Linked DNA regions of Homo sapiens: all the other regions are linked to region 2. Evidence: promoter capture Hi-C in 16 types of primary human blood cells and fetal thymus (Javierre and others, 2016). All regions are on one chromosome and are shown on one strand. The core of a region is centred on a gene start or on the middle of the fragment in contact, and the rest is flanking DNA. Distances in the headings are between cores, read along the strand shown.

Evidence for each region. Contacts are between HindIII fragments. The CHiCAGO score rates a contact against its expected background, and 5 or more counts as called.
Region 1: a contact is called between a fragment that was not itself captured here and the fragment with the promoter of FSIP1 in region 2, in 1 of 17 cell types (total CD4 T cells). The highest score is 5.6, in total CD4 T cells.
Region 3: the fragment with the promoter of RASGRP1 here is called in contact with the fragment with the promoter of FSIP1 in region 2 in 6 of 17 cell types (total CD4 T cells, naive CD8 T cells, non-activated CD4 T cells and 3 more); the score reaches 10.3 in total CD4 T cells.
Region 4: a fragment that was not itself captured here is called in contact with the fragment with the promoter of FSIP1 in region 2 in 5 of 17 cell types (naive CD8 T cells, naive CD4 T cells, total CD4 T cells and 2 more); the score reaches 7.9 in naive CD8 T cells.
Region 5: a fragment that was not itself captured here is called in contact with the fragment with the promoter of FSIP1 in region 2 in 1 of 17 cell types (total CD4 T cells); the score reaches 5.0 in total CD4 T cells.
Region 6: a fragment that was not itself captured here is called in contact with the fragment with the promoter of FSIP1 in region 2 in 2 of 17 cell types (naive CD4 T cells and naive CD8 T cells); the score reaches 7.7 in naive CD4 T cells.

The regions. Positions count from the first base shown.
Region 1 is chr15:38,521,400-38,524,323 of GRCh38, reverse strand. The region is part of intron 3 of RASGRP1 (RAS guanyl releasing protein 1); the gene reads left to right. Among named protein-coding and RNA genes, the nearest start is that of RASGRP1, 42 kb to the left of the region's middle. The HindIII fragment of the contact is 778 bases long and covers 917-1,694 here.
Region 2 is chr15:39,781,399-39,784,374 of GRCh38, reverse strand. It overlaps FSIP1 (fibrous sheath interacting protein 1), which reads left to right and starts at 1,534. Exons shown (of 12, transcript NM_152597.5): 1 at 1,534-1,747. It overlaps LOC105370941 (a long non-coding RNA gene), which reads right to left and starts at 1,469. Exons shown (of 1, transcript NR_135665.1): 1 at 1-1,469. RefSeq lists an enhancer at 1,295-1,424 and a silencer at 1,725-1,904. The HindIII fragment of the contact is 7,042 bases long and covers 1-2,976 here.
Region 3 is chr15:38,563,231-38,566,147 of GRCh38, reverse strand. RASGRP1 (RAS guanyl releasing protein 1) reads left to right here and starts at 1,334. Exons shown (of 17, transcript NM_005739.4): 1 at 1,334-1,554. The coding sequence starts at 1,520. RefSeq lists enhancers at 728-917, 759-1,270 and silencers at 1,128-1,177, 1,338-1,577, 1,608-1,827, 1,838-2,037. The HindIII fragment of the contact is 3,108 bases long and covers 1-2,354 here.
Region 4 is chr15:38,478,912-38,481,861 of GRCh38, reverse strand. FAM98B (family with sequence similarity 98 member B) reads right to left here. Exons shown (of 8, transcript NM_173611.4): 7 at 403-570. Among named protein-coding and RNA genes, the nearest start is that of FAM98B, 26 kb to the right of the region's middle. The HindIII fragment of the contact is 602 bases long and covers 1,299-1,900 here.
Region 5 is chr15:38,666,979-38,669,836 of GRCh38, reverse strand. No RefSeq gene overlaps it. Among named protein-coding and RNA genes, the nearest start is that of LINC02694, 28 kb to the left of the region's middle. The HindIII fragment of the contact is 3,643 bases long and covers 1-2,858 here.
Region 6 is chr15:38,497,995-38,501,130 of GRCh38, reverse strand. RASGRP1 (RAS guanyl releasing protein 1) reads left to right here. Exons shown (of 17, transcript NM_005739.4): 14 at 992-1,028; 15 at 2,185-2,337. Among named protein-coding and RNA genes, the nearest start is that of FAM98B, 45 kb to the right of the region's middle. The HindIII fragment of the contact is 5,932 bases long and covers 1-3,136 here.

The sequences.
Region 1 (2,924 bases), core at 56-2,555, 1.3 Mb after region 2:
GAATTCCTACCACTGTTTCCACCATTCTTCTGTGCTGATGGTGACTTTCAAGTCTGGATTTCTCTAACTTAAACCTTTCCTTTTTTTTTTGGAAATTGGTGCGGGGAGAGGGGTCTCACTATATTGCCTAGTCTGGTCTCAAACTCCTGGCATCAAGTCATCCTCCCACCTCAGCCTCCCAAAGTACTGGGATTCCAGGCATGAGCCACGGCACCCAGCCATCTAACCTAAACCATTTTTCTTAGGTTTATACCAGTTTGTCCTGCTAACACTTAAGACTTTAATATATGCATTAGCCCACTGTCCCCACCCACAGCCACTACCTCATTAATTCTGCTTCGACACCAGTACAGCCTTGTTTTGCCTAAGACACATTCTGAGAAATACATCATTGGGCGACTCTGTCATTGTGTGAACACCATAGAGTGTACTTACACAAACCTAGATGGCATAGCCTGCTACACTTCTAGGCTAGACGGTACAGCCTGTTGCTCCTAGGCTACAAACCTGTACAGCAGGTTACTGTACTGAATACTGTAGGTGGTTGTAGCACATGGTAAGTATTTATATATCTAAACATAGAAAAAGTACAGTAAAAATATGGTATAAAAGATTAAAAAATGATATGTATAGGGGGGCACTTACCATGAATGGAGCTTGCAGGACTGGAAGTTGCTCTGGGTAGTCAGGGGTGAGTGGTGAGTGAATGTGAAGGCCTAGGACATTACTGTACATAACTGTAGGTTTTATAAACACTATATACTTAGGCTATACTAAATTGATAAAAAATATTTTTCTTTCTTCAATAATAATTTAGCTTACTGTGACTTTATGTTATAAACTTAATTTTTAAAACTTTGACTCTACACAGTGTACAGCTGTGTAAAAATATTTTCTTTATATTCTTCTGTAAGCTTCTTTCTGTTTTAAAAATGTTTAATGTTTATTAACTTTTTAAACTTTGTTGTCAAAATCTAAGACACAAGTATACACAGTAGCCTAGGCCTATATTGGGTCAGGATTATGAAGACAGGATGAGGCAATAGGAATTTTTCAACTTCATTGTAATCTCATGGGACCACTGTCATATATGTGGTCCGTCATGGACCAAAATGTTATGCAGCACATGACTGTATTTTCATGGTCAATTTCAGTTAATAGTGTTAGTATCTATTCTTGCCTAAACCAGTAACATCAGAAGCACTCTTGACTTCTCCCCTGCTTTCACCTCCTACAGTCTGTCACCTGATCCTAGGGTTTCTACTTCAGAAATGACTCTTATCTGGTCTCTGCTCTCCATTCCCATACCATGCCTTAGTTCATGTCTCCGTGGTCTCTCTCCTGAACCACTGTCCCACTCCAGTCTTTGTATCTACATGGTCCGCCTACCCCGTCTCATGGTAGCTACCCTTGAAATTCTTTCCTACAAAGCAAATTGGGCAGGCCATTGTTTCTGAGCCTCTGCAGACTACGGAGTTAATGTCAACTCCTTAGCTTGCCAGCAAAAGGGCCTCCTCAGTCTGTTCCCAGCGAGTTTTTCCTGCTTCATTCCGTAGCTCTCTGAGAAACCCTTTCCCTTCCTCACTGAACTTCTCAATATACTGGATGTAATGGGGCCTTTTATCATTCCTGTGCCTTGAAAGCCTTTCTACCCTCTTTGTTTAGAAGCTCTTTCAAGACCCTTCTGGGAAGCTTTTCTAGACTTTTCCAGCCCTTCTCCCCTTTTAAAAATACTTCTAATGTTTTAAAATAGTATTATTGATTGACAATCTATTTAATTCCTTTGATTTTAGTTTTGTACTGCTTAAGTCAAAGTGCGTTTCTCATATCTCTGGCCTGGATGTAATCTGCATTGAAAAACTCACAGAAAGTGTGAAGTGTTTTTATTCTGTTAGCTAAATAAATGTATCTACCTAAACTTCAGTCCGTTTTGCAATGTAGTGCCTATGTACTCTGGTCTTTATAGATGACCGTTTCAAGTAAAGTACAGAACGTTTGTGTCTAGCTGCTGTGATTTCAATTTGGTTAATAATATAAAAGATTGCAAGGGTACTGAAAAATTGATTGAATTACAAATTAAGAAAGATATATTTTTGTATTTTAAAAGTATGTACACTGTAACTTACCTATTTGTGTGTCGTCTCCCCCGCTAGACTCTGTCTTTCAAGGGCAGGGAGCAAGGCTTATTTATCTTTGTATCTAGAACTTAGTTTAGTGGCTGTTTCATGGTAGGACACAATAAATGTTGCATTACTATGGGTGCAAACATTGGGATACTTTTTATATTTACAAGAACTTTTACCTGTGATATCTGGGCTTTGCTCAGGTGAAGATGTAACCTGGGGTAGGGAAAGGGATTCTGAGAGTATGAAATAATACTCCTGTAATGAAAGCCAGGTTAAACATTGAAGGCAAAATTATTTTCTTTCTTTACGCTTAGTTTCCCTGTTCTCTGACCTGGAAGTAATAGAATTTTTAGTTAAATAAGCTCAGATGGTCTCCTGATTACCATTGTGAAAAGAAGAGAGGGATAAATTTGAAAATGTGCTTTGAATAGTTTAGGTGCCTGAAAAGTACAGTCAGAACTGTACTGGTACTTTATAGCCACAGTACTAGCTATGAAGAAAAGAAAAAGGTATGGGGTCTGAGGGTTCCAGCAAACACTGAAGTTTACCAAGATCAGCAGATGCCTGAGCCTCTTACTATTTAGCCTGCATGTGCTGGTGTTTGCTTCAGCTCCTGAATGAAGTGAGAAAGAGGGTGCCCTGCTCCCTGTGGGGGGCAGCCTTTGCCATGGCATAGGGGCTCTAAGGACCTCTGAATGATGCCCAGGCTCAGCACTCACGTGTAGACTGACTGGATTTACAACACTGACGCTGCACCACATGCAGCCAACGTGCACTGTCAGAATATACTTTTGAAGG
Region 2 (2,976 bases), core at 285-2,784:
ATTTTATTTGCAAGAATGACTCACTGCCAGCGGCACACAGGGCCAGGAACATAGGCTTTCATGGCACCAACTACAAACAAGACTGACTGATGAGATTGTGGCCATGTCTCTCCCAAGTGCTCCTGACCTGGTTCCTGAAAATGTTCACCTCAACCTCGAACTCAGCATTTCCTGTGCTGGTTTTCAACTTGACATTGGTGAATTTCTTCAGTAACATCTCTAGGTCGGCTGCTAAGTTTTAATTCTCATAGGAGGATTAGGATACTTTCTCCCATTTTCTTCAGTTTGCAACTTTTTTTCTTTTGAGATTTGGAAAGCCACATAAATTCCCTGAGAAATGCTGGGAAGAAATCCCTGCACAGAAACACTAACAATGAGGACAGTGAGGCTGGAACCAGGTTTACCAGGGGAAAGCAGTAGGTAGGAGTGGAGGTCAGAGAGCCAACAGAAAGCCTTATCATTTAGAGATGATGTCAGTATGAACCTGAATGGAAGCACTGAAGTTGTGACGAATGTTTGGATTCTGAATATATTTTGAATGTTGAGCTGATAGGACAAATAGATTGTAGAGTGAGAGAGGAAGAAGAATTGAGGATGACTCCAAGGTTTTTGGTCTAGGCATGGCAGGCTGAAATTACCATTTGCTGAGATGGATAGAAAGTGGGTGGGGGACTCTGGAGAAGTTGTTTTTTCCCGTGTTAAGTTTGAGATGCTTACACATCTAAGTGGATATGCCAAATAGGCAGTTAGGTAAAGGAGTCTGGAGTTCAGGGAAGTCTGGGCTGGTGATAAGATGCAGGATTCAGGAGCATAGGGATGGCATTTATAGCCAGGTTTTTATACCCAGCACTCGCCTAGACTGCAGCTGTGTTCTTTCGGCAACTCAGCCTACGACTATTTGCTTCGCTGAAAAAAAACCACATCGTACCTAGTTAAAACAATGAGGACAAAGGGGCCATGAATGTGAAAATGCCCTGTAAACGGTAATGTGCTGTTCAGACTGGAAAGCAGGAGAAATGATGGCAATGGAGGTGAGGAAAATCAGTTTGTGGACGTAGGGAAATAATTTTCGTGCACTGAGAATTAGAGAAACTACGAAATGAAAGAAGGTGCAAAAAGCAATTATAACTCTTTTTGGACTGTAGCCGAATCTGTGCAAAACTCATATTTTTAAAATTTCCATAGCACCCCAAATTTACTAGAGCTTCACATACATGGTCTTTTTGAGCTGCACAAGTCTTGTAAGAAGGGAATTATTATTGTTCCCATTTTACGGAGGAGGAAACTGTGCTCGGAGAGGATAACTGACCTGTAAGGCATCACAGCAATATGAGGGACAGAGATACACAAGCATCCAGACGTCCGCGTTCCGAATCCAACCTAAAGACGAAAAATCGCTCCCAACCCCCACCGTCGGCAGCGAAGACGGAAGGACACACGCCGGCCGTCCCAGCTCGCAGGGCTCCAACAGCCGCCGGCCCCGGTCCCATTTCCGGATGGTACAGCCCTTTCCGCTATCGCGAGACCGGAAGCATCGCGCATCTGGTTGCCAGGGAAACAGCGGTCCCACAGGCAGGAGGGATCTGGACCGGCGGCTTCTTCCACTACCAGAGAGGCTGAGGTGGCGGGAGAGACCCCTCTCCTCTGGGGGTAAGTGGCTGGCGCGGCGAGTGTCTGCGGCGCGCTTCTGCGGCCATCTGCGCCCTGACTGACGGCGGCCAGTTCCTCGAGGAGGCCCGGCGGGAAGGTGAGGGGCCGCGCAGATGAGGGCGGAGCTCGGTCGCGGGGCGGTGCGCCGAGGAGTGGGCGGGGCGGAGCTGCGTCGGGCCGCTTGGCATGTAGATGGACTGTCAGGGAGAGCGGACAGGGCCAATGAGAGGGCGGGGGCGGGCTCATTGGGGGCGGGGCCCCAGCGGCTTCTGCCTCCGCGGAGGCTATTTCTCCAGGAATCACCTAACATTAGGACCTGTAACCAAGGCTTCTACTTTCCCGAGATTTGGATCTTCCCACCAAGATCTAGAACTGATCACCAGCCATTTAAACTAGACCGTAAACGGCAAAGGATGCAAATAGGCATTTCACAGGAAAAATAAAAAGATGCAAACAGCAAACAATTGATTAGAGACTCAACTTTTCTCGTGAAGAAATGTAAACCAAATTCACAGATACCTTTTACACCTATGAGACTGGAGAAGATGAAACAGCTTTGACATAACCAGATGGGCCCCAGCCCAGTGTAGGGGAAGTAGTGTAATTTGGTGCAGCCTTTTTGGAGTACAATTTGGCGAACTACCAAAATTTGAAACATAAGTGTTCTTTGACTCAGCAATTCTAATATATTTTATGGATGTATGAGCATAACTAAAGAAAGATTGGCACAAATATATTAACTTAAAATTGAGGTATAACTTACTTATGGTAAGCCTCACCCATTTAATCTACAGTTCTGTGAGTTTTGACAAATGTATACAGTTATGTAATTACCAACCACCACAATCAGCATACGGAAGTTTCATCATGAACCCCAAATTCCCTAGTGCTCTTTGTATTTAATCCCTCCCCTAACGCCATCCCTGGCAACAACTTCCTAGTTTTTTGTTCCTGTAATTTTGCCTATTCCAGAATGTCATATTGATGGAAGCAAACACCCTGTGGCCTTTTGAATCAGGCTTCTTTCAGCTTAGCATCATGCAGTTGCTATTCATTCATGTTCTGTGTATCAGTTGTTCCTTTATGTTGCTGAGTAATAGTCCATTGTATGGATCTACGGTAGTATATTTATCCATTTCCTACTTGAGGCATATTTGGATGAGTTCTTTCCAGTTGTTGGCTATTATTGATGAAGCTGGTATAAATATTCATGTACAGGTTTTTTTTTGTGTGTGTGAATATGTTTTCATTTCTTGGGTAAATATGAATGAGATTGTGGAGTCATATGGTAAATATATGTTTAACTTTATAAGAAACTGCTAAGCA
Region 3 (2,917 bases), core at 85-2,584, 1.2 Mb after region 2:
GGAATTGAACTTTAGACAAGGCCTCTCTTTAAACTTGACTGCTAGAAATGCAGGAGACAAATTTTGGTCCCACCTGTAGCAAGGGTATTTGACTCTATGAGATGCATTTATTTCAAATGATGTTCATTTTTGGCTCCATCTTGTGTGCCTCATTTTTCATTTCACACACTTCTTTTTGTAGGTTATGTGCTCTTGTAAGCTATCTCGAATTCTGTTTTAAGGACAAGGTAGCATATAAATATAAGGAAATATATAAATGAAACAGAGGAAGGCTTTAAAGTCCAGAACACTATGGCCAGGAAGACAACTATGACTGTGGCTAGAGTTATGGTCTGTGGCCGTGATAATGAGTGTGTTATTAGGGCAGTCCAGCAGTGATTACAGGGAGTCAGACAGACCTCAGTCCAAGTCAGAGGTCTCTCTGCTGTTTATTAGTTGTATGATCTAAGGCATAGCATTCTCTAAACCTTCATTTTCTCATCTTTACAACAGTGATCTCTTTGTATCAGGGAGAGTGGATTAAATGAGGTAATGTATAGAAAGCACTTAGCACAACCGCACTCAATCATTAGCTATTGAGATTATCAGCACTATCACCTGGACAAGCAGCGGATGGGCCGCCCCTCTTGGCCAGGTCTTCTGTGCGCACTGACGTTGTATGAAAGTTGTCCCCACATCTCCTACACCCACCGACGCCAGGCGGCCGCGTCTGGGCCAGATATGGATCACGCCTGTGGAGCGCACCTCCACACAGGCAGCCCTCGTCCAAGGTGCAGGGCGCAGGGCACAGGGCACATGTCTACGGCCCAGTCCTGCAGACGGCTACCTAGAGACCCCAGGGCACAGGTTAAGGCAACTTCACAACTGTCTTTCCGTTCCTTTCCCCTGCCGGACTCCGCGCTCTGATATATACAGGAGAGGCCCTGGAGGGGAGAAGGCGTCCTCACTGCAGTGCTCCGAGCAGCGGCCGCAGGAAGAGGCGTGGAAGCTGCGGGTCGGCTGCGGGAAAGGGGGTCCCATGGGAGCCGCTAGGCGCAGCCCGTTTCCCGAGCTGAGGTGGAGGTCGACGGGCACAGGTGCCCTGCAAGGCGCGGGCGTGGTAGCCGGGAGCCCGCTCCTCTCCAACTCCCCTGAGACTTAACCCTTTGGCCAAGAGAGGTCGAAGGCGGGCAGGGGTGAGAGAACCGCGCGAGGCGCAGGCCGGGGCACCCGCGGAAAGGGGGCAGGTTTCGGGGAAGAGCGGCGGGGCGCCGCACGTTTCCTGCAGCCGCCAGCATCAGCGTGTCAGGTGGTTGCCAGGCGGGTGTGAGCGCGCGCGCGAGGCAGAGGGGGCGCGCTCGCACAAAGTTTGTGCCTGCGGTGCACCTCGGTCGGGCTCGCCGGGCTCGAGGGCTGGCGGGCGCCGGGGCTACGAGGCCCGGGGGGGAGAGAGCCGGCAGGCGGCGGCGGTGGTGGCGGGGGCGATGCGCCGCGCCCGGCCGCGCTAGGTGAGCCGGCACCGGGAGCGCGGGCCGCGGCCATGGGCACCCTGGGCAAGGCGAGAGAGGCTCCGCGGTGAGTAGAGGCGGCCGTGGCCCTCGGGAGCGCCTGTGTCCTTTCTTGGGAAAGAGGCCCCTGCCCGTCGCCCCAACACCCCGAGGGAAGTTGAGGGCGGAGGGGGGCCGGGGTCGGCCGGAGTCCCGGGACACCAGCGCGACGGGCGGACGTGTCCAGAACGCCCGGCGCGCTGCGCCCGGGGTTTCGGGGAGGGAGCTGGGGCTGAGGGGTGGTAGAGGGGCGGCCGCGAGGCCAGAGCTCGTCCGGTGAGATCTGCTAGGGCCGAAGCTCTTCGCGGAGCCGGCGCCCGCCCGCCGACTTCCTCCCCCACATCTCCACGCCCGGCATCGGGACTCCCACTCGCGGACTTTCCGCGCTGCCCGCACCTGCTGGGGCGCTGGGCTCCGGCTGCGCCACCTGGTGGCCCCTCCCGGCCCTGCCCAGAACGGCCGAGGAGCTTGCAGGGAGCCCGCAGAGGTGGCACCCCTCGGTTGCCCCTGCCCCACGGAAGTTTCCAGATCCGTGGGTCAGGGAAACATATCGCCTTCCGTATGGGAAGCTGCACTCCTCTCCCCCTCACTATGATTCTATAGAGGGTCTTGGATAACAGAAGTTGAAGAAAGAGGGACAGTGAGTGAAAGGGCTCTTGGCCAGGCAGCTTTGAGTTTGTAGCCAAAGGACCAGAACTAGGCAACTGCATGAACAAAGGCCTGGCCTCGGCGTAGGGGCTGGACAAGTTGTGCACTTCACAACTCCATTCACATCGACACTGATGGGACTGTGCCTTGCACCACCATACCCAGTAGCGGCAGGAAGCTTGCGATGCTGGACTTCCCGTGCTTATAATCCCAGGAACGAAGGATTCTTGGCCCTGTATGCACGCCCTGCCTCTCCCCATCCAGGTATCCCCTGAGGGTCCACCACTGTACTTTGCACTAGATTCAGAAGGAGGAGTTCAGTACATTAAATTGAGTATTGTAAGGGGAAGAGGACGGGACTGGAAGGAATCCATACTAGAAGTCAAGAGAGTCACCTTCCACTGCAAAGAAAGTTGTGGAAGTTCCAGTTCCCTTGCTCCATTTCATCTCTTACTTTTCTAGGCGGATTTCATAAAAAGCTCAGCCTGAAACTGACCTCCACTGAGATACCTATGCCTGGAGAGGATTTCACCTAAACCAGTTTAGAGTTTTGACGGTCTCCTTCAGCAAACCTATGGGGCTTTGGTTACTTTTAGGCTTGGAAAACACCTTCAAGTTAATTTGTTTCTCTCGGGGTTTTGGTTTTTTCATTTACAGGAAAACATTTGGCTACTGTATTTTTTTAAAAAATATGCCTTTACAGACTCAGAGGCCATTCATTCTATGGATTGTTAAAACACCTT
Region 4 (2,950 bases), core at 350-2,849, 1.3 Mb after region 2:
AGGATGGGAACCCAGATTGGTCTGACTCTAAAGCACAAACTCTTCTTCCCTTTACACCAAGGATATAACGAATCTGTCAGTACTTGAAACAATTCCGAAAGATTCTTACTGACAAAAAATGATTACTTTTTAGAAAGATGGAACATAATTCTTGCTAAAGCTTTGACAAAAACAATTCATAATTCCTCTAATTCAGAAAATACTTTGATTTATGAATACACAAATTCAAGTGAACATACACACATACACAAAAATAACATAACTAAGCCTAGACTGAACCCCCCTGCCACTCTTTTTTCTAAACATTTACCAGGACATGAAAGAAAAATAGACTAAAATCTGTAAAAACATTAAGTAAGATATCATCAATTCATTTTCCACTGTACTGAAAGAAACACCAACCTTATTAATGGCACATGCGGTCTTCTCCCGGCTGGTGCCACTACTTGTCCTAATGATCTTGGATAGATCTTCACGAGCAGCAAGTAGATGTGCCATTGTAATCGTTGTCTTGGGTGACAAAGCATAACGCTTAGGCTGATAAATTCTTGCTATATCATCTGTTTTTACCTAAATGACAAGAGTTAAGGAAAAAAGGAACAAAAGTACATTTTAATGAAAGAGCAAAAACAATCATAATCTTTAGAAATAAAGAAAAGGAGATAATGCATAAGCAAGGAGTTAGAAAAGAGCAAAAACACCCAAATATCTGAGAATTTATGAATAATTTAGAACAAATAAAATAGACCAACAGGTGTTAAAAATATGTAACTACCAGCAACAACTCGCTAAAAAATAATAACAAAAAAATTTCTATACATATTAACAAAAAATACCTAAAAAATAGTTTTACCAAAACCACATACAGGACATTTAAAAGGGAAACATCAGTAAATCTTGCAAAAACAAAAGGAAAACTTGTATAAATGGTAAGAAATACCAAGTTTCTGTATGGGAACATTAAGTATTATTGTCAGTTTTCCCCCAAATTAACTTATAATCCTATATAAATAGTTTTTGAGAGAATGAAAAAAAAATCTAAAGTTAAATCCAGAAACTCAATATGTAAGAATAACTAAAAGCATTTTGAAATATAATCCTACCAAATACTAATATGCTATAATACAAAATTATCATCATCTTATCAGTTAACATTTAATGAGAACTTATTAAATGTGCCAGGATGCTGTTCACTTAGTAAGGCATTATTTCTTTAATCCTCAAAATATCCTTTTAGAGTGGTTGGTTTTTATTATCCCCTTTTGCAGATGGAAAAAAAAAATGAGGCATAGAAAGCTTAAGTTAGTTTCCCCAAAATATAGAGAGAATCCTAGCTCTGCCCACTTAGCAACAAAGGTCTACCTGACCCCCAAGCACAGGTCTAGTATAGATAACAGTTTGCTATCCTACCTCCATCTAATTAACTAGAACTTGGGAGAAAAAAACATAGATTGATGAAATAGTATATTGAGACTCAGAGCCTCATAAATCTATGAATGCAATAAATGATAAAGGAGACATCACAGATCAACGAGAAAAGGAAAGGATTATCTTTTAAATGGTGCTGGAATGACCTGGTGGCTATCTGTAATAATAACAATAATACAGCACACCATATAACAAAGGGAATTCCAAAGAGAACAAAAAGTTAACTGTTTGAGGTTTAATTTTCAATTTAAAAACAACTACATTATAAAAATTAAAATTTCTGTACTTTAAAAGATATAAAACAACATCTAATGACAACTGGGGAAAATATTTTCAACAAATAATTCAACCAGCAAACTTCCTTTCTATATAAAAACCTCAAACACAAAAAGAAAACAGAATTTTACAGGAAAAAAAAATGACAAGACATAAATAGAAGTTAAAAAGAGGAAATTCAAATGACTAATAAGCTTATGAAAACAGTTCAACTTTGTCAATAATAAGAACAGACAAAACAAGTTAGTCTTTTTAACATCAAGTTAGCAATAAAGAGGCTAAAGTGACACAACATTTCATTTACCTTACTGGAAGGAGTTTAAATTCATATAAACTTAAGTGGAAAACAATTTGGCCATGGGAAGCGAGAGCATTAAGAGACAAAACCTTTGACACAGTAAATTTCCTTTAAGGAATCCACCATAAAATTTTACTCTGAAATTTATATATAAAAATTAAACACAGAAACATGCCTGGTATTGTTAATATAGAAAAAAATGTATAAAATAAGAGAAGTAAACTATTGAATCACTAAATGATAAAATATAATGCAGCCATAAGAAGGATACTGAAAGAAATTTAGTACTGTTACATGCTATGACATGAATAAACCTTGGAAACATTATGCTAAATCAAAGCCAGATGCAGAAGCCACATATTGTATGATTCCATTTATATGAAATGTCCAGATAGGCAAATCCATGGAAATGTAAAGTATATTATAGTAATGGTTGCCAGGGCATGGAGGTAGGGAATATTGGGAATGACTGCTGAGAGGTAGCTATGTCATTTTGGGATGATGGAAGTGTTATGGAATTACATATAGGGTTACACAACACAGTGAACAGACTAAAAACCACTGAATTGTACACTTTAAAATGGTATATTTTGGCCAGGCACAGTGGCTCATTCCTGTAATCTCAGCACTTTGGGAGGCTGAAGTGGGAGCATTACTTGAGGCCAGGAGTTTGAGACCAGCCTGGGCAACATGGCAAAACCCTGTCTCTATAAAAAATAAAACAAAATTTTTAATTAGCCAGGTGTGGTGGCACACGTCTGTAGTCCCAGCTGCCTGAGCGAAGGCCACAGTGGGAGGATCACTTGACCCTCCAGTGAGTTGCAGTGAGCTATGATGATGGCACTGCACTCCAGCCTGGGCAACAACAAGACTACAACTCAAAAATAAAAATAAAATGGTAAATTTTATGTTAATTATATCTCAAAAAAATTAAGAGTTAATTTTAAA
Region 5 (2,858 bases), core at 320-2,819, 1.1 Mb after region 2:
GGGAGGCCAAGACAGGCATATCGCTTGAACTCAGGAGGTCAAGACCACCCTGGGCAATGTGGTGAAACCCATCTCTACAAAAAAATACAAAAATTAGACAGTGTGGTGCACACCTGTAGTCCCAGCTACTTAGGAGGCTGAGGTGGGAGGATGGCTTGAGCCCAGGAGGTAGAGGTTGCAGTGAGCCAAGATCACACCACTGCACTCCAATCTAGACAGCAGAATGAGACTCTGTCTCAAAAAAAAAAAAAAAAAAAAGGAAAAGAAAAGAAAAAAATGTATGTGAGAGGGTGATTGATGATCAAAGGGAGCCCACTTTCTTGGTCTCATGAACATTCTCCGTCAAAACACACACATATACAACCCCTAAGTGCCAGTTCTGATTAGACTTGGGTCTTACTATGCTTGGCTTGGCAGGATTGCACTATTGTTCAAACATTTGTCCCATAAAAAATCAGCAGAATTTGAATTAACCACTAGTTTCTTTTAAGCTGAGCTGACATTTTGAGCTACATTTATTTTAACTAGGGATTTATGACAGGAAAGGAATAGTTCTAATTAAATAAGTATTAGCCTCACTGTGAATAATGACCCCTTGGAAGTTTCCCAGTCCCCTAATAGCTAATTAACAGCTCATAACTGGGCTCTCTTTGTATCCCAAGGCAAGTGTGAAAAGGAAGACTTGACTGATTAATGAGATGGGCTCAAACCGGATTAAAAATGAAAATTGGCTTTACGGACTCCAGACCTGCAAATCTACTCTGCGTGAAAAGGAGAGATTATTTTTAAGGCATCCTGGGCGATCGCTGTGGGAAAAGGGAGCACACAGCCAAAGGCATTGATCTGTTAACGCTTTCCCTGTGACCCCTTTCACAGTGGCTGACAGAGGACCAGACAGCCAGCGGTGAGAGAGCTGGCCTCTCCATTGTCATGACGCCTATAGGCTTGGGGTGGAAAGCCAAATAGCCTTCATAAAGACTTGCTCTTCCTTTGTCATGTTTGTATTTCAGACAAATATTAAGGCAGACAGATGGCAAATTAGAAGTCAATAAATACCACTTTCCATCTCTGCCATTCCATTTTAGAATGTGTTAGAAGCCCTCCTCTTCTCCCTCAGTCAGAGGCTGGAGACTAGTTCTTCAATATTAAAGGAGATTGTGCTCAGCTTGCCTGAGGCAATCGCAAGCTGGTACCATGCCACCTCCCACATAACACTTTCTCTGGCACTTACCAGAAAGTGTTTTTGAATGGGCAGTTGTGGACTCTGGAAAAATGCTGCATGTATTTTCAGAGGCCCCTGTCTGCTGCAGATAGCTCCATCCCTTTCATGTAGCTTTTAGTTGCAGCCTCACTTGCTAAGCGCTCGGCAGGCCCCTACTTTTTTTCTCTGCTCGCGTACCCTGCCCCAAGAAACTTTAAAATACTACATAGAGCCAATATTTATTTGGCCAATAGAATTCCATTCAGTGCAAGGGAACTGCTTTCAGTCATCATGGGGAAGAGACAGGGGAGTACCCCAGATTACCATGAAATTTAAGTTCCTTCTCAGAGTAGCCAGCCCACTCCTACCCCTTTGGAACTGAGACTAGGTTCTAAGGTTGAGCCAGAGCAGGGCCACATTATAGGGGTGCTGATTTGGGGTCACCACAGAGCAGTTGTGGGTCTTTATCAAATAACTGGCCCCAAAACAGCAGATTAAATGGTGAGGGTGGAGGAAGAACAACTTCCTTTCTGAGCTTATAAGTAAGATTTATGATCTGCCATTGCCAGGAAATGGAATGTTACAACTAGATTGCCACTGAAGTTCAAAAACTTAAACCTATGTTGAATTTAACCTAATCTTTATTTGATGATTTTAAAAAGACATTTGAGACTCTAGGTGTTCTCAATTCTTCATAACAAATCTTTTGACAAAAGTGAGTAAGATCTAATTAACAGCTCAAAAGATCAGGAAGTCAAAAGATCAGAAACTTTACCAGCCTGTGTGCGCTATGCCTACCCTGCACCCTGGAAGGTTCCTAACCTTCCAATGGCTTTAGTTGCCTCTTTACCATCTGACTGAGCAAGGACAGGACCACAGCAAGGTAAAAGCATTTTCCCTCTCTCCCAAGAATATACCCTCCAATCTGTGCCCCTTGCTTTCTTCTACTGGTACCCCAAAATGGATCAGATATCAAGAACCATCAAACATTATACTACATAGCACAAAAACAAAATTAATACACTGCCCCCCACACAAATAAAAAAGTGTATAAAAAACACCTGGCCCTTATCTAATCTTTGCAAGGCTTAATGCCAAGAAAGGTGTTAACTCTCCAGGGAGGATGGAGACACACTAGATATCAGTTAATTAACACTCCCAGTAGGTGAACAGAAGTGCTCTCCTAGGCTGGAAAGAATCTCATTTTCTTCTAAAACTGTGACTTCGGACTGACACTTCAAAATTGTCAACAGTAACTTAAGGGATGAGAATGTCTCTTTAGTTATTTTAATCAGCAGCATGTACGGAGTGCACTTTGGTGCACATCTGTTTGTGGGAAGATAAAGAAATAACTACCATGTCTGTCCTGAAGAAGTTGATCAGGTTAAGTAGGACGTTAAGACTAACACAGATTACTCTGTAAAAGATACTGATAAACATGTAAAAATTAACATTACACTGTACACTGGTGTTGTGTGCATCTGGTATAAGAATGATCAAAAGTATGGACGTCTTTTAAATGTCAGCTGACATCTTCAAGGATGAGGACATTTTGAAACAGTGTATTGGAGGAAGTGGTAGAGTCAGACTAACAGCAGAGGGTGTGGAGCAAGGAAATCCTGTGCAGGGATGGCCAGAAAATCTGATGGAATCAGAC
Region 6 (3,136 bases), core at 87-2,586, 1.3 Mb after region 2:
TAGGGTGCTCCAGGGCTGAATTTGGGGAAGAGTGTGGGATACTTTAAGACAGGCACAGACCTCACAATCCTTATGAACCCATCCCAGCTTGGAGCCCAGACAGACACCTAGAATAACCTAGAGCTCAAGCGTGTGGTTTTTACCTGCACTCATCATCTCTCGCTTCTTCCTGTTTTTTCTTTTCTATTGCAATGAGGCCTTAGATAAATGGTACCAGAAATGCTGAATTAGGATATACTTTTAAAGTATAATATTCATGTGCTGTTTCAAGTGTTATAACAAAGACATATGAGATACCTTCTGTCTTTAGGAGATAACCTTGGCTATGCCCCTCTTCCGTTCCACTCCTGACCAATCGTTTCCCCCTAAACTCGGGTCCTGATGCAAGGCTCTATATCCTTCTCAGTTTGGAGTCCTGAGGAACCTGTTTGCCCGATGATTCATCCATTTCTCGAGAATGTCTGGGTCATAAGGCTGCTAGTGAGAGCCAGGTGTGGTGGCTCATGCCTGTAATCCCAGCACTTTGGGAGGCCAAGGCAGGCAGATCACTTGAGGCCCCGAGTTCGAGACCAGCCCACCTAACATGGTGAAAACCCGTCTCTACTAAAAATACAAAAAAATTTAGCCAGGTGTGGTGGAACATGCCTGGTAGTCCCAGCTACTTGGGAAACTGAGACAGGAGAATTGCTTGAACCCAGGAGGTGGAGGTTGCAGTGAGCCGAGATCGCACCACTGCACTCCAGCCTGGGCAACTGGGCAAGACTGTCTCAAAAAAAACAAAACAAAAAAAACCTGCTTCTTGAGAAACTTTGATCAGCATAAACTCTTCTCATGGATTTAAGGTCAGAAGGGACAAGACATGAGAGATAAATGAGGTTTCCTTCCCACTTGAGCTAGAGAGTAAAATGAAGGAAAATAAAGGAATGTCACCTTGTAGCCTCACACCAGATGGATGAATGACATGTGGTGCATTCTGTCTCTTGTTTCATAGCTCTGGGGAGTGATCAAACAAGGATATCGATGTAAAGGTAAGACTCAATATTGTTGACATATTCCTGGTGTATCAGTCCATTCTCACGCTGCTATAGAGAACTGCCTGAGACTGGGTAATTTATAAAGGCAAGAGGTTTAATTGACTCACAGTTCCACAGGGCTGGTGAGGCCTAAGGAAACTCACAATCATGGCAGAAGGGGAAGCAAACACATCCTTCTTCACATGCTGGCAGGAAGGAGAAGTGCTGAGCAAAAGGGGGAAAAGCCCTTATGAAGCCAACAGATCTCATGAGCAGTCACTCACTATCATGAGAACAACATGAGGGTAACCGCCCCCAGGATTCATTTACCTCCCATTGGGTCCCTCCCATGACACATGGGGATTATGGGCACTACAAGGTGAGGTTTGGATGGGGACACAGAGCTAAACCATATCAGCTGGTCTTAGAGTCCCACCTCTAAAACATTTTTTACCCATAGTAGTTGTCCATTTAGTCCACAACTTCTCAGCATAGTTCAGAGTCTCATCCCCAAAGTGGTTTCCCTCGGACACCCCCGGTGAATGACCGCCACACCGAAGAGAGAAATGCCTGGTTGCACAGATAGGCATTTTCTCTGTATAAAATCCTCTTTCTGTCGTGGCTGGCCTAGAACAGGGATAGCAGGTAGGAGATGGTGCTCTCATATAGTCATGGAAGGGTGGGTCCCCAGTGAAAAAGATAGAATCTCTTCTGCAACAGAAGATAAATGATTACTAAAGGCCCTTGTCAGCTTTCCTTTATCACTCAGGACATAACTGTCCTTCCTTGTGACTAGGAGAATTCAGGAGTGAAAGAGAGGAAACCTTTTACTGCAAGAAAGAAAATAAGACCTAACAGCTGAGTGTTTCCGGAGGGTCTCCCTAGAGTAGGCAGAATGTATGGGATACCAGGACACCATCTCTTCCCTCCAAGATATCAGGATACTGCTTCTGATGCTGAGATTCACTGATAAGGGCTACATCAAGAGTGTGAGCTCTGGGCTTCACCAAGTGAGAAGAATGCTAGCTTCATTAGGAATGTTAAGTGTCTTAGCTCCAGAAGATAGAACAGACATGTGTGACAAGAAAGCACTGCATGAATTTGGTTGTGAGACACACTGGGGAAGAGAGAAAAGTGAAAGACTTCTTGACCCAGGATGTCTTGTCCACAGACTGCGGGATGAACTGTCACAAACAATGCAAAGATCTGGTTGTGTTTGAGTGTAAGAAGCGAGCCAAGAACCCAGTAGCTCCCACAGAGAACAACACTTCTGTGGGGCCAGTGTCCAACCTTTGCTCATTGGGAGCCAAAGATCTGCTCCATGGTAAGTAGGCACTGGGAACATTCATCTTGGAAAGTGAAGTAGGAAGGGAAAAGTTTTAGAGACGGAAAGATTACCTCATGACTCTGTGTTTGAGTTTAAATGTAACCTCAACAGCTAGGCCAGGGCTGACCCCTCCCACAGTTTTGGATTTTAGCTCCATGCCTATGTCTTAGACTTAAGGTGTGAGAATAGCAGAGTCCTAGTTAGGCATAAAAATCAGCAGGTACTTATTGAGCACCTACACCAAGCACAGATACTGACTTCTGGCCAAGATAGTGCCTCAAGTTAACAGTTAACTATCCCACCCTATCCCCAGCTCCAAACCCAAAACAGTGACTAGGGAAAATATGTATGTACATGCATATGTATATGTGTGTGTATATATAATGTAAATTAACATATATAATATATAAATCACATTAAAAGGCATAGTGCATTCAAAAACAGATATCTCAAGGTTACACATGTACTAGAAACATACTGCAAGGAGTAGATGCTAAAGCTACTGGTCTGCTTGGCTGCATGTCTAGAAGCAGGTAGAGGCAGCTGCGAATTTGATTTCTGCATAGTAACAGAGACCACCTATGCGTGAAAGGTGACCAGAACCAGACTTACTGCTTAAAATTGAGAAGGAAAAATCCAATGCTTAAAAAACTGTGACTGTCACTTAGCAGCAGGAAGCAGACTTAGCCACAGACAGAGTTCTACTAGCTGAGTGACTGTCTATGATAGCCCCAATTTTTCTCCAGGAGAGGAACCCCAAGCCATTAATTTAAGACCAGGTCCTAGTCTGAGGAAC